Linked DNA regions of Homo sapiens: region 2 is linked to region 1. The links are contacts of gene promoters, found by promoter capture Hi-C in blood cells and fetal thymus (Javierre and others, 2016). All regions are on one chromosome and are shown on one strand. The core of a region is centred on a gene start or on the middle of the fragment in contact, and the rest is flanking DNA. Distances in the headings are between cores, read along the strand shown.

Region 1 (5,626 bases), core at 2,252-4,751:
CTGAGGCATGAGAACTGCTTGAACCCAGGAGGCAGAGGTTGCAGTGAGCTGAGATTGCCCCTCTGTACTCCAGTCTGGACAACAGAGTGAGATTCTGTCTCAAAACAATAATAATAATAATAAAGAAGAAAGAAAGAAGGAAAGATAAAGAAAGAAAGGACGGAAGAAAGAAAAAGAAAGAAAAAGAAAGAAAGAAAGGAAGGAAGGAAATGAAGGAAGGAAGGGAAGGAAGGAAGGAAAGGAAAGAAAGAAGAAAGAAAGAAAGAGGAAGGAAGAAGGAAGGAAGGAGAGAGAGGAGAGGGGAGGGGAGGACATATGTTAAAAGTGTAATAGGAAGATCTGAGAAGGCTCCCCAGAGGAGGTGCCCCTAAGCCAGGGATTGAGGAATAGATAAGGTTGCAACAGGGAGAGGCCATCCAGAGGCCCTCACATGTCATCCCTCATGAATGTGGCCCCACCTATTAAGGGTGACTGTGTGTGTACATGTGTGTGTGAGAGGGAGCGTGTGTGTGCACGTGTGTGTGTGTGAGAGAGTGTGTGTGTGCACGTGTGTCAACCCTATGTTCCTAGCAGAGACTCTGCTCCCTGGATTCTATCTTTCCTCCCCTAGTGCCCCACACTGTCCTTGGCTTCTAGCCTGAAGGTTAGGACCCTACTTACAGCCCAAGCCCAAGAAGCTGGCAAGAGCCGCAGGACCCTTGGACTACTCTGGGAAGGAGAGAAGGGCAAGAGCTAAGAGGCCCTTAGGTTGCCAAAAGCAGGGGCCCAGAGGCTTCCCCTGTTGGATTCAGACCCATGGGTCAAGGCATGTGTCAAGGGCTTCCCACTCCATGAAGCCTGACCTGAGCCTCCTGGCAGATTGCCCTACCCCCACCTCTCAAACACACACGGCGCGGGGTCTCTGCTCAGCTGTGTTTCTTGTGTCTCTGTCTCATACCCTAGCTCCACAGGCAGCTCCTTAAGGATGGTGCTCCAGTCTTCCAGATCCCCACCCCCAGCACCTTGCCTTTGGGGGAGGCCACACAAGGGCATGGGAGATTGGCTGAGGGTAGGTACCTTGATGGGAAAGCAGGGGGGCAGCTGGGCGCAGGTCCTCTCACAGTCAACGCCTGCAGTGAAGGCCACTCTGGCCGGGGACTCCGGGGAGAAGTCCAGGTCATGGTCAATGAACTGGCCCCACTGCATGAACATGAGGGCTCGGCCACGGTCGGAGGTCAGTCTCTCATTGGGGAAGCGCACAATCTGGTTGGAGACAGCCCGGACCTGGTGGGGAAATAACATCAGCACGGGACATGGGCTCCCTGACCCCACAAGGTATTAGAGCCAACCCAGGACTCAGGGAGCAGCAGCTCCCCTGCTGGAATTGACAGCCTCTCCTCTTCTGCCCTCCATGCCCCTTTTGTCCCTGGAGGCGTAGCCACCTCCTGCTCTCATTCCTAGAAGGATGGTTTCTGGCTGGGCTCCTGAGGATTCCGGTGGTAAAGAGAAGGAGAGGGGCTAGGTTGACTGGCTCAGACCTCACCAGCTCTCCCAGAGGGGAAGGGAGATCAAATAGATAGATCAATTTGTACACTGATAGCTAACCAGATGATAGCACGGATTCACAGGTGCATGGGCTGGTTGCCAGGTGATGGATAATACACGTAGGGAGTACGGGGTCAGCAGATGGAAGGGTGGATAGAAGAAAATTAATTAATAGATGTTGATAGATGGGTAGATGATAGACTGCTCTATCGATATATCAATAGAAAACTGATGAGTTGATAAATGTGAAATAGATCAATAGATAAAGCCAGATTAAGGTATAGAGCTGTTTATATTTAGCAAGACTTTGACACTAATTTTCTCAGAAAAAACCGTACAACACCGTAATGGTTAGCATGAATAGATCATGTCCTCTATAGCTATTTATACCAAGGACTTCAATATCCACACAGGCTCTACGAGGTAGGTTTTAGGGCCATTTTACAGATGAGGAAACTAAGCCTCAGAAAGCTGTGTTATTTGCCTCAAGTCACTGCACTGGTCAGTGGAAGGGCCTGGGTTCAAGCCCTGCCTGCGTGACTCTGGGCTGTGTTTTACTCCCCGCATTTAAGAGATCAAGCAACCTCCCAAACCCTCAGCCCCAACTCACAAGAGGGAGAAGGAAGCCATTGCGCCTCCTGCTGGGGGTCCAGCCGAAGGGGAGCGACAGCCCATCCTCATACTCGGCGGGCAGCCAGCGAGCCAGAGCCTGGTTGGAGGCCCCTAGCAAGGGTCTCCTCCTGCAGCCATGGGTGGGATAGGTTAGCAGGGGGCAGGGCCTGGAGATGGCTCAGCATGGAGGGAGAGGGTGGGTGCAGGAAGGGAGAGGTCCCCCAGGCAGGGGCAGCCCCTCCTGCCGCCCCGCACGCACTTGTTGTTGCACCGTCCAGTGATGGTGCGGTACTTGTCGCTGCAGCGCTCGGCCTGGTCCCGGAGAGCACAGCCACTGGCCTGGGACAGCAGCCGCAGCTGTGGTTCTGTTAGCACATCTGTGGGAAGGCAAATGGGCAGACCTGAGCTGGCCTGCTCTGTACCTCCCATCCCTTTACCCTCTCTCCTCCCAGCACCCCAAACCTGTGCACCCTGCCTCCCTCTCCTGGATTCCTTCTACTCCAGGCCAGGGTAGGCCCAGCGGGCTCAGTGGGGATCAGAGTACCAGTGACATTGAAGGGTCCGGACCGCTGGGGTTGTAACTTCTCTTCAAGCAGCCCCAAAGCCACATGCATATAATCTGCGGCCCGAACAACTGTCCTGGTGGCTGCTACCGGTTGTTTGAAGTAGGACAGGAGGTCCATGGGGCTGGCTGAACCGCTGCGAAGCCGCTGCTTGATGCTGCCCAGGAGAGGAGGAGTGAGGGCTGGAGAGAGGGTGCAGACCCACCCAGCAGAGACCCAGTCCTGGGGCACAGTCAGGACAGGGCAAGCGGACAGAAGGATGGATGGAAGGGAGGCTCTACCAACAGGAAATGTTCATGGGGTCCAGAGGTGGCTGATGAGTGAGATGAACTTGGCTGGGGCCCATGCCCCTCACTGATCCTCCCAGGCCCATGCAGCCCCCAGACCCAAGTCCACCTCTTCTGGGTCCAATTGTAGGCAGCATCCACCAGCAACTTGGCCTCTGCTATGCAGTCTCGCAGGACCGAGGTCTCCACTGCCCCAGGGGAGGCTGTTCAAAGAGATGGGGACTCAGGGTTCAGCAAGCCACAAGACCCCCTCCAAGACCCAAGTGCTTCCCCTTCCATTTCCCCTCCCTCCTCCTTGCCTGTCTAGGGGACTATTACCTGGGTCAGTGCCCTCACAGGGCTGGGCGAGGACGAGTGTGGCCAGGACCCCTGCCAGGGCTGGGAGCAGATGCATCTCTGCAGCGAGGCTTCACCAGCTGGGAAGTGAGTGACATCCACAGCCTGCACGGGAGGATCCTCTGCTCCCCTCTCACTTTGAGGACCCCCAGCCGACCTCTCACTTCCTCCAGCTCTTCTCTGGACGTAGCTGGGAAGGGACTTTTATAGCCCATTCTAGGGTGGGGGAGGGCAGCTCTGGGCCCTAGAAACCCAGCCTCTTGGGTGGAGTTCTGAAACTTCTCTCTGGTTTTCATGGGAGTTTTGAGACTGAAACCCCCCACCCCACCTCCTACCAGCCTGGGGACATTCTTCCTGCCTACCCTTCACTCCATCCCTACCCTCTACTACCAAGCCCACTGATGCACTTCTCCCAGGGCCCAGAGCAGCACCTGGGACACAGGTGTCGCTCAATGGATATTTGTTGGCTGACAGGAGCGGTGCACCTCAGTCGCCACCGCCTGGCTGCATGGCCTTGGGCAAGCCACTTTCCCTCTCCAGGCCTCAGTTTTCACATCCCTAGAATGAGAGTTGGGCCAGATGATTGGAAGGGTGCCTCTCCTCCTGCAACAGGGCAGAAACTGAATCTGCCTTACTGTTATACACACCCCCCATACCCAGCTCAAAGCCCAGCATTTAGTATGTGCTTAGCAGGTGTTTGTTGAGTGAATGAATGATCTGTGATGAATGATTTGGCCCCTCTCCTTATCCCCTAGCCCTACTCACTCCCTCCAAGGTGCCAGGGAGAGTGTGAGGCTGTGACTGAGGCAGGGCCTGGCAGTGAAATCCCTCATGGGGCCATTTTGGGGACATGGCGAGATGTCACAGGTAAAACACCCAGCCCAGTGAGCTGCTGCAGAGCCTAAAAGTAAGCGCCCGCCATGGGCTTTATTCTCTTGGAGTTTCTTAGGTGCCAATCAGTAGTAGGTTTACTCTGAGAAGTAGATTTCAATTATGAGTTCCTATTGGGCTTGGTGAGAAGTAGCTTCTTTAGAGGCAGTGTGCTGCACCAGGGTCTGATTGGCCTGGATTGAATCCAGCCCTGTCACTAGCTTCGTGACCTTGGGTGAGCCTCCATTTCCACCTTAAGTGCGCCTCCATTTCCACCTTAAGTGCAGAGTGCATCCCAGTCGGCCTTCTGCCAGGGCCCACCCTCTCTGCACCTAAGCCTTCCTCCTGTAGTTCCCTGCCCTGGATGAGCCAGGTTCATCCTTTGCCTCTGACCTCATCCCGGCTGCCTGGAGAGCACATGCTCATCCCTGAGACAGTTCCAGAGTCACCACCACTGTGGCCAGCAGCCTGCGTGTCCTCGCCCCTTCTTCAGGAGGACACGTCCATTCCTTCTTCAGTGTGGACCCCGTGCCTGCTCCAGACTCCCAGGGAGGCTGTTCCAAGTGTCCTTTCTCCTCCCCCACCCCCACACCCTACCGAAACCCTGCCCGGTGCCTTCCACAGCCTCCTCCTCCCACAGCAATGTTACCAGCCCAACCGTTGCTCTTGAAACAACCACCTCTCTTCGGCAACCCCTTTCACAAGCTCCAGTTGATGGCCTGAGCCCTCCTAATCTTATCTCCTTATCTTTAGCGGAGGCCCCTCTCCTGTGACGGGGGGCCTGGGTAGAAGTCACTGTGTAGGAGCTGAAAGCACACTGGGTTCCTTGATGCTGACCCACTGAGTGACTGGGTAAATCACACCCCTCCATGGACCTGTTTCCAAACCTGTGAGATGGGGACAGGGAGCCTCATGGAGGAGAGAGATTATATAAATCACACAGCACTCCTCAGCTGTGTGTCACCTCCCGGCCCTCAGGGAGCCAGGTGCTCCCCGGGTGGAGCCAGGTGGAATGCATGTACCCCAGGTTGGAGCTGGATGGGGTGTATGTACCACAGCTTGGAGCCAGGGTGGGGTGTATATAACCCAGGTTGGAGTTGGAGTAGGGTGTATGTACCCTAGGTTGGAGCCAGGGTGGGGTGTATGTACCATAGCTTGGAGCCAGAGTAGGGTGTATGTAACCCAGGTTGGAGTTGGGGTGGGCTGTATGTACCCTAGGTTGGAGGCAGGGTGGGGTGCATGTACCCCAGGTTGGAGTTGGGGTGGGGTGTATGTAACCCAGGATAGAATTGGGGTGGGATGTATGTACCCCAGGTTGGAGTTGGAGTGGGGTGTATATACCCCAGGTAGGAGTCGGGGTGGGGCGTATGTACCCCTGGTTGGAGTTGGGGTGGGATGTATGTACTCCAGGTTGGAGCTGGGGTATGGTGTATG
Region 2 (5,626 bases), core at 1,603-4,102, 240 kb before region 1:
TATTTGAAAAGTTACTTGTAAAAATAATTTAAGGCCTAGGATGACATTATCTTCCTCAAATAAGATTTGTTTCTACCAGGCAATTGGGGTCACTGGCAATTAGGGATCACCTTAATCCAGTTCAGAGCCTGAGATTTTTCTGACCACAAACTGTGCAAGGGCTTGTTTCCCTGTGGTTCATCCTCTCCTGGGTGCAGCTTATTGAGATCCTAGCCATAAAAGTGGGAATCTCATCAGAACTCAACCTTTGACAAGCCCAGTCTCTGACATTTGTCCCTCTAGACCCAAAAGGCAAAGCTCAGCCTCTCAATCTCCTACAGATGGCAAATGTCACAAAGGTAAAAGTAGCCTCAAATACAAGGCTTACTCTCTGGATCCCCACTCTCACCTGACACTCAGCCCAGTCATTCTTTACTATCTCATTACCTTTTGAGACTTTTAAAGAATATTGTTTCTATCATCTGTCCAGGTTTTTTAGTTGTCTTCAATAGGAAAGCTGGTCTTAATTATCAGGCCTGACATTACCAGAAGTGGTCATATCATTAAAAAAAAAAATTCTTACCTCTTTACCCTTCCATTTTTCCTATTTTTTCTTTAGTCCAGTATTGGATATGCTGAGATGAACTTCTCTCTCTGTTTTTTTCTTTCAATTTTGTTATACTTTTATCTTTTTTCTATTTTGTGGAATGTTCCTCAGATGAAACTTTCAAATGTTTAATTTTAAAAATTTGGCTACTAAATTTATAATTTCCAGTTGGGCATGGTGGCTCATGCCTGTAATCCCAGCACTTTGGGAGGCCAAGGCGGGCGGATCACCTGAGGTTGGGAGTTCCAGACCAGCCTGACCAACATGGTGAAACCCCGTCTCTACTGAAAATACAGAATTAGCTGGGCATGGTGGCGCATGCTTGTAATGCCAGCTACTCAGGAGGCTAAGGCAGGAGAATTGCTTGAACCCGGGAGGTGGAGGTTGCAGTGAGCCGAGATCGCGCTATTGCACTTTAGCCTGGGCAACAAGAGCAAAACTCCGTCTCAAAAAAAAAAAAATTATAACTTCTAACAGCTCTTTTTTATTCTATTCTATAATTGTTCCTTTTTGGGGGAACTTGCTGTTCTTTTATATGGATATAATATCTTCTTATAGCTCTCTGAGGATACTAAATGGAAGGGCTGGTTTTGAAGTTGTTTCCCCACAACATATGTCAGTTTCCTCTACGTTCTTTCTGGTTTTTTTTTTTGGTTGTTGTTGTTTTTGTTTTTTTTTTCCATTGGCTTTCTTCCCTATTCAAGAATGGAGCATTAAAAAGCTTACAGAAGCTCTGTTGACAAGATTTGTCAACTGTTGGGCTTAGCTTAATGTTAATCAGCATGTACCACCAATTTTTTTTATTTATTATTATTTTTTTTTTGAGGCAGGGTCTCACTCTGTTGCCTAGTCTGGCACGATCATAGCTCACTGCAGCCTTGATCTCTGGGCTAAAGTGATCCTCCCACCTCAACCAACCTACCCCCAACCCCCCAAAGAAGTAGCTGGGACTACAGGCACATGCCACCACACCTAGCTGATTTTTTTTTACTTTTCAAAGAGATGGAGTCTCACTGTGTTGCCCAGGCTGATCTCCAACTCCTGGTCTCAAGCAATCCTCCCAACTTAGCCTCCCAAAGTGCTGGGATTACAGGTGTCAGCCACCATGCCTGGCCTTAAGGCACTTCTTAGTGCAACTTCAGGTTGGGGTATTGAAGCAGTTGGATTCATGACCCAGTTACTGAACTCTAGTCAATAAGTTGTCAACCACAGGCAGTCAAATATTCCCTTCCATCTCTGCTTGCACACTAGGTACCTCTAGCCTGAGTTTATCTCTTCTTTTAGGGCTTTGCTGAATGTGTCAAGAAATAGTCAACACCTTGTGATTTTTGTCAATCTTTTCCCCCATGGTTGTATGTTCACTTGGCATGTGTGGTCTGACTTCCATGGTGTCACAGGTAATGATTTTACCAAATATGTTGGCATGGATAACAAAGATCACCAACATTCTAGCTTGCTGTGTCCTAACCATGTGCTGCCTGACTGCAAAGCCAGTAGCACATATAATCATGTATCCCTTAATGACAGGAATGTATTCTGAGAACTATGTCATTAGTTAATGTTATTGTTTTATAAACATTGTGAATTGTACTTACACAAACCTAGATGATGTTGCCTACTACATACCTAGGCTGTATAGTATAGCCTATTGCTTCTAGGCTACAAACCCTTACAGCATGTTACTGTATTGAATATTGTAAGCAATTGTAATACAGTGGTATTTGTGTATCTAAACATAGCTAAGCATAGAAATGGTACAGTAAAAATAGAGTACAATCTTACAGAATCATCATCATCTATATGGTCTGTCACTGACCAAAATCAACCAATTATTTTTTTTTTTGGCAATTTGATTGGCAAAACTTTAACTGTTGATAATATCCAGCTTTGATAAAGGTATAGAGAAAAGGAACCTTCTCTATGCTGTAATTGGAATGTAAATTCGTATAGCCCTATAAAGGACAATTGGCATTATTTATAGATAACTAAAATGCTTATGAGTTTTGACTCAGGAACTCTACTCCTGGGAATCTCTCCTGTAGAAATGTGTATATTCCCAAAGGTACTCAAAATAAGTTTGCTATAGTGTTATTTATAATAGCAAAAATTTGAGAAAAGCATAAATGCCTGACAGTGGGGAACCAGATACATTATGACATCTACATAATAAAATACTGTGCAACCATTTAAGAAACTGAAGTAGCTTGATGTGTTGTGACCTGGAAAGACAGTAAGTGTTCATAATGTGTTCAGCAAATGGGTAAGTTGCAACACAATATGTCTAGCACAACCCCCTTTCTAGAAAGAAAGAAAAGAAAGTATATGCTGTAAAATTATAGAAAAAAGTCTGGAGATATACGATATAGCTGATAAATATAACACTAGTTATCTCTCAGAAGATAGAATGTATGGGTGCAGGGGTATGCTTAACTTCTCAATTTGTATATGTATATATAATAGGATTACGGGAAATTTTCACCATCTGTATTCTTCTATGTTTTTCAAATTTTAAAAAATCTAAAAATACTAAAAGTAGTTTAAATACTTGAAGTGTTCCTATAGCAGGAATATAAAAGCCTTAAAGTAATAGAAATGAACAATTTCAGAGTGTTTTTAAAAAATATTTATATCCCAGATAGTAAACTGACTTTTGAGGTTTAGATATGATTGACTCAAGATAAACTTACCCTATACCAAGAATGCCTTTCTAAGATTTCTGAGACTTTCTAGGGTTCACAGTAGCTTTTATTTTTGAGTTTCTGCTTAAATGTAATTCCAGACTTGTCCATATCTGACCTCCCAGGGCTGTTCTTATCTGTCTGTTCCATGCTATACCAGATGCAGAACTTGGCCCACTTTCTTTGACCTCTTCCTCCCTTTAAGCATTATGCTAGGCATGTGTATGTGTAGCACACTTTTATGAAGATGTCGGGAGGCAGAAATACCGACAGAAATATTTAGAATACCGCAAAAATGGAATTAAAAGGCCCCCAGTCACTTTACGGCATCTTTCCTTGTCACTAGTCAATATGGTCCTCTGCCATGTTGCTTTCTTTCCTTGTACTAGCACCAGACCTTCGTTTCTCTGCTTTCTGTTGTTGTTGTTGTTATGGTTGGTTTTTTTTTTCTGCTCTTTCCCCAGGTGCTGAATTCCTGTGTTTTACTTAGGCAAAGAAGGTTAGGTATCTCTTCTATTTTTTGATGTTTTTAAGGCGTCATTTTTCCCAACCAGAACAATCTATCGAGACATATTCCTCAACAAAGACAATTACCTCCCTGAGAGGAACTCTGGTGCCTGCTGTTAAAAAAATAATTTCCTCTCTTTCACTACATGTTATGGTTATAAGTGTAACTGATAAAATAATTAGCACAGTAATTATCTTTATTAACTCTTCCTGTTGTTTTTTTTTTCTAAGTAAAGCCTTATCCTTTGGTCAGTGCAGTTAATAGATGAGTCTTAATTGATGTTGGCTTCCTGCTGTGAAACATAAGAGTTGTGAAATCTTGGCATCATTATGACACCTAATCACATTTTCATTTTATTATGGACAAGAGGAAAATGAGTTATGATTAAGCTAGAACCTCTCTGCTAAAAAAAAAAAAAGTTTTTTAATTAAAGTGTAGGCAGAAATACAATTCATGAAGTTGCAAATGATTCTGCTCTGATAGACCTTGGCCTAGCAGTTGGTCTATGAAAACATGGCTATATGTAAGGTCCCATGGCATTAAGAGACCTTAACCAAAGTCAATGTGTGAGATTAATATACTGCTCATTAAAAACAGTACAGCATATGGTTAGAAAGAAAGCTTTTGGTGTTAGAAAAACCTGCATTAAAACCTGGATTCTGCTCTTTACTGTGTGACCTTGGACGTGTTTACCTAACTGAGCTTTGGTGTCCTCATCTGCAAAATGAGGAATATGGATTATAATGATATAAATCATAGAACTGGCTTAGTATTATGCTGGGTTACATAGTAAGTAGTCCATACATAGTAGCAATAGAATTTTAGCTATTTTTATAACATTTACTTTTTTTTTTTTTTTTTTTTTGAGATGGAGTCTCGCTCTGTCGCCCAGGCTGCGGTGCAGTGGCGTGATCTTGGCTCACTACAAGCTCCACCTCCCAGGTTCACACCATTCTCCTGCCTCAGCCTCCCGAGTAGCTGGGACTACAGGCGCCCGCCACCATGCCCGGCTAATTTTTTGTATATTTAGTAGAGATGGGGTTTCACCATGTTAGCCAGGATGGTCTCGATCTCCTGCTCGCCTCAGCCTCCCAAAGTGCTGGGATTACAGGCATGAGCCACAGCGCCCAGCCAATATTTACTGTTCTTATGTTTATTACCACTGGTTACTTTTCAGATGGCTAGTCTCTATTTATTTATTTATTTGTTTATTTATTGAGCTGGAATCTCACTCTGTTGCCTAGGCTGGAGTGCAGTGGCGTGATCTCGACTCACTGCAACCTCCGCCTCCTGGGTTCAAGCGATTCTCGTGCTTCAGCCTCCCAAATAGCTGAGACTACAGGCATGAGCCACCACACAACTGATTTTTGTATTTTTAGTAGAGATGGGGTCTTGCCATGTTGGCCAGGTTGGTCTTGAACTCCTGACCTCAGGTGATCTACCCACCTTGGCCTCCCAAAGTGCTGGGATTACAGGCATGAGCTACTGCACCCCGCCTTAGTCTCACTTTAAATTCACGTAGGCTGTCAGTGTTGCAGCAGTCCTATAATATTTTCTAGTCAATATATTCCCCATTCTCCAAAGCCACTCTATTATATCCTGTCCTCTCTGCTCCGTTTCCAACACTCCTCCTCTCTCTTCATTCGTGGCTGTGACCCTGTTTTATATCTTACTGAGAAAATAGAAGCAGCTAGAATGAAGCTTTCATATCTTCCCACCAACATATTTATCAGTCTACTTCCAATTGTAACCCTACACGCTGCCTTTCCTTCTGTTATAATGGAAAAGGGCCAGTCCTTTCATTTGTATACAGAATCCTGTCCCCTTTGGTGTACTCACAGACTTAGGACCTAC

The links. Contacts are between HindIII fragments. The CHiCAGO score rates a contact against its expected background, and 5 or more counts as called.
Region 2: a contact is called between a fragment that was not itself captured here and the fragment with the promoter of EPX in region 1, in 4 of 17 cell types (M2 macrophages, M0 macrophages, monocytes and 1 more). The highest score is 12.5, in M2 macrophages.

The regions. Positions count from the first base shown.
Region 1 is chr17:58,190,601-58,196,226 of GRCh38, reverse strand. EPX (eosinophil peroxidase) reads right to left here and starts at 3,501. Exons shown (of 13, transcript NM_000502.6): 1 at 3,305-3,501; 2 at 3,096-3,189; 3 at 2,681-2,856; 4 at 2,396-2,513; 5 at 2,135-2,264; 6 at 1,057-1,263. The coding sequence starts at 3,380. The HindIII fragment of the contact is 9,173 bases long and covers 1-5,626 here.
Region 2 is chr17:58,434,910-58,440,535 of GRCh38, reverse strand. All of the region lies in intron 5 of HSF5 (heat shock transcription factor 5), which reads left to right. Among named protein-coding and RNA genes, the nearest start is that of RNF43, 20 kb to the right of the region's middle. The HindIII fragment of the contact is 3,086 bases long and covers 1,310-4,395 here.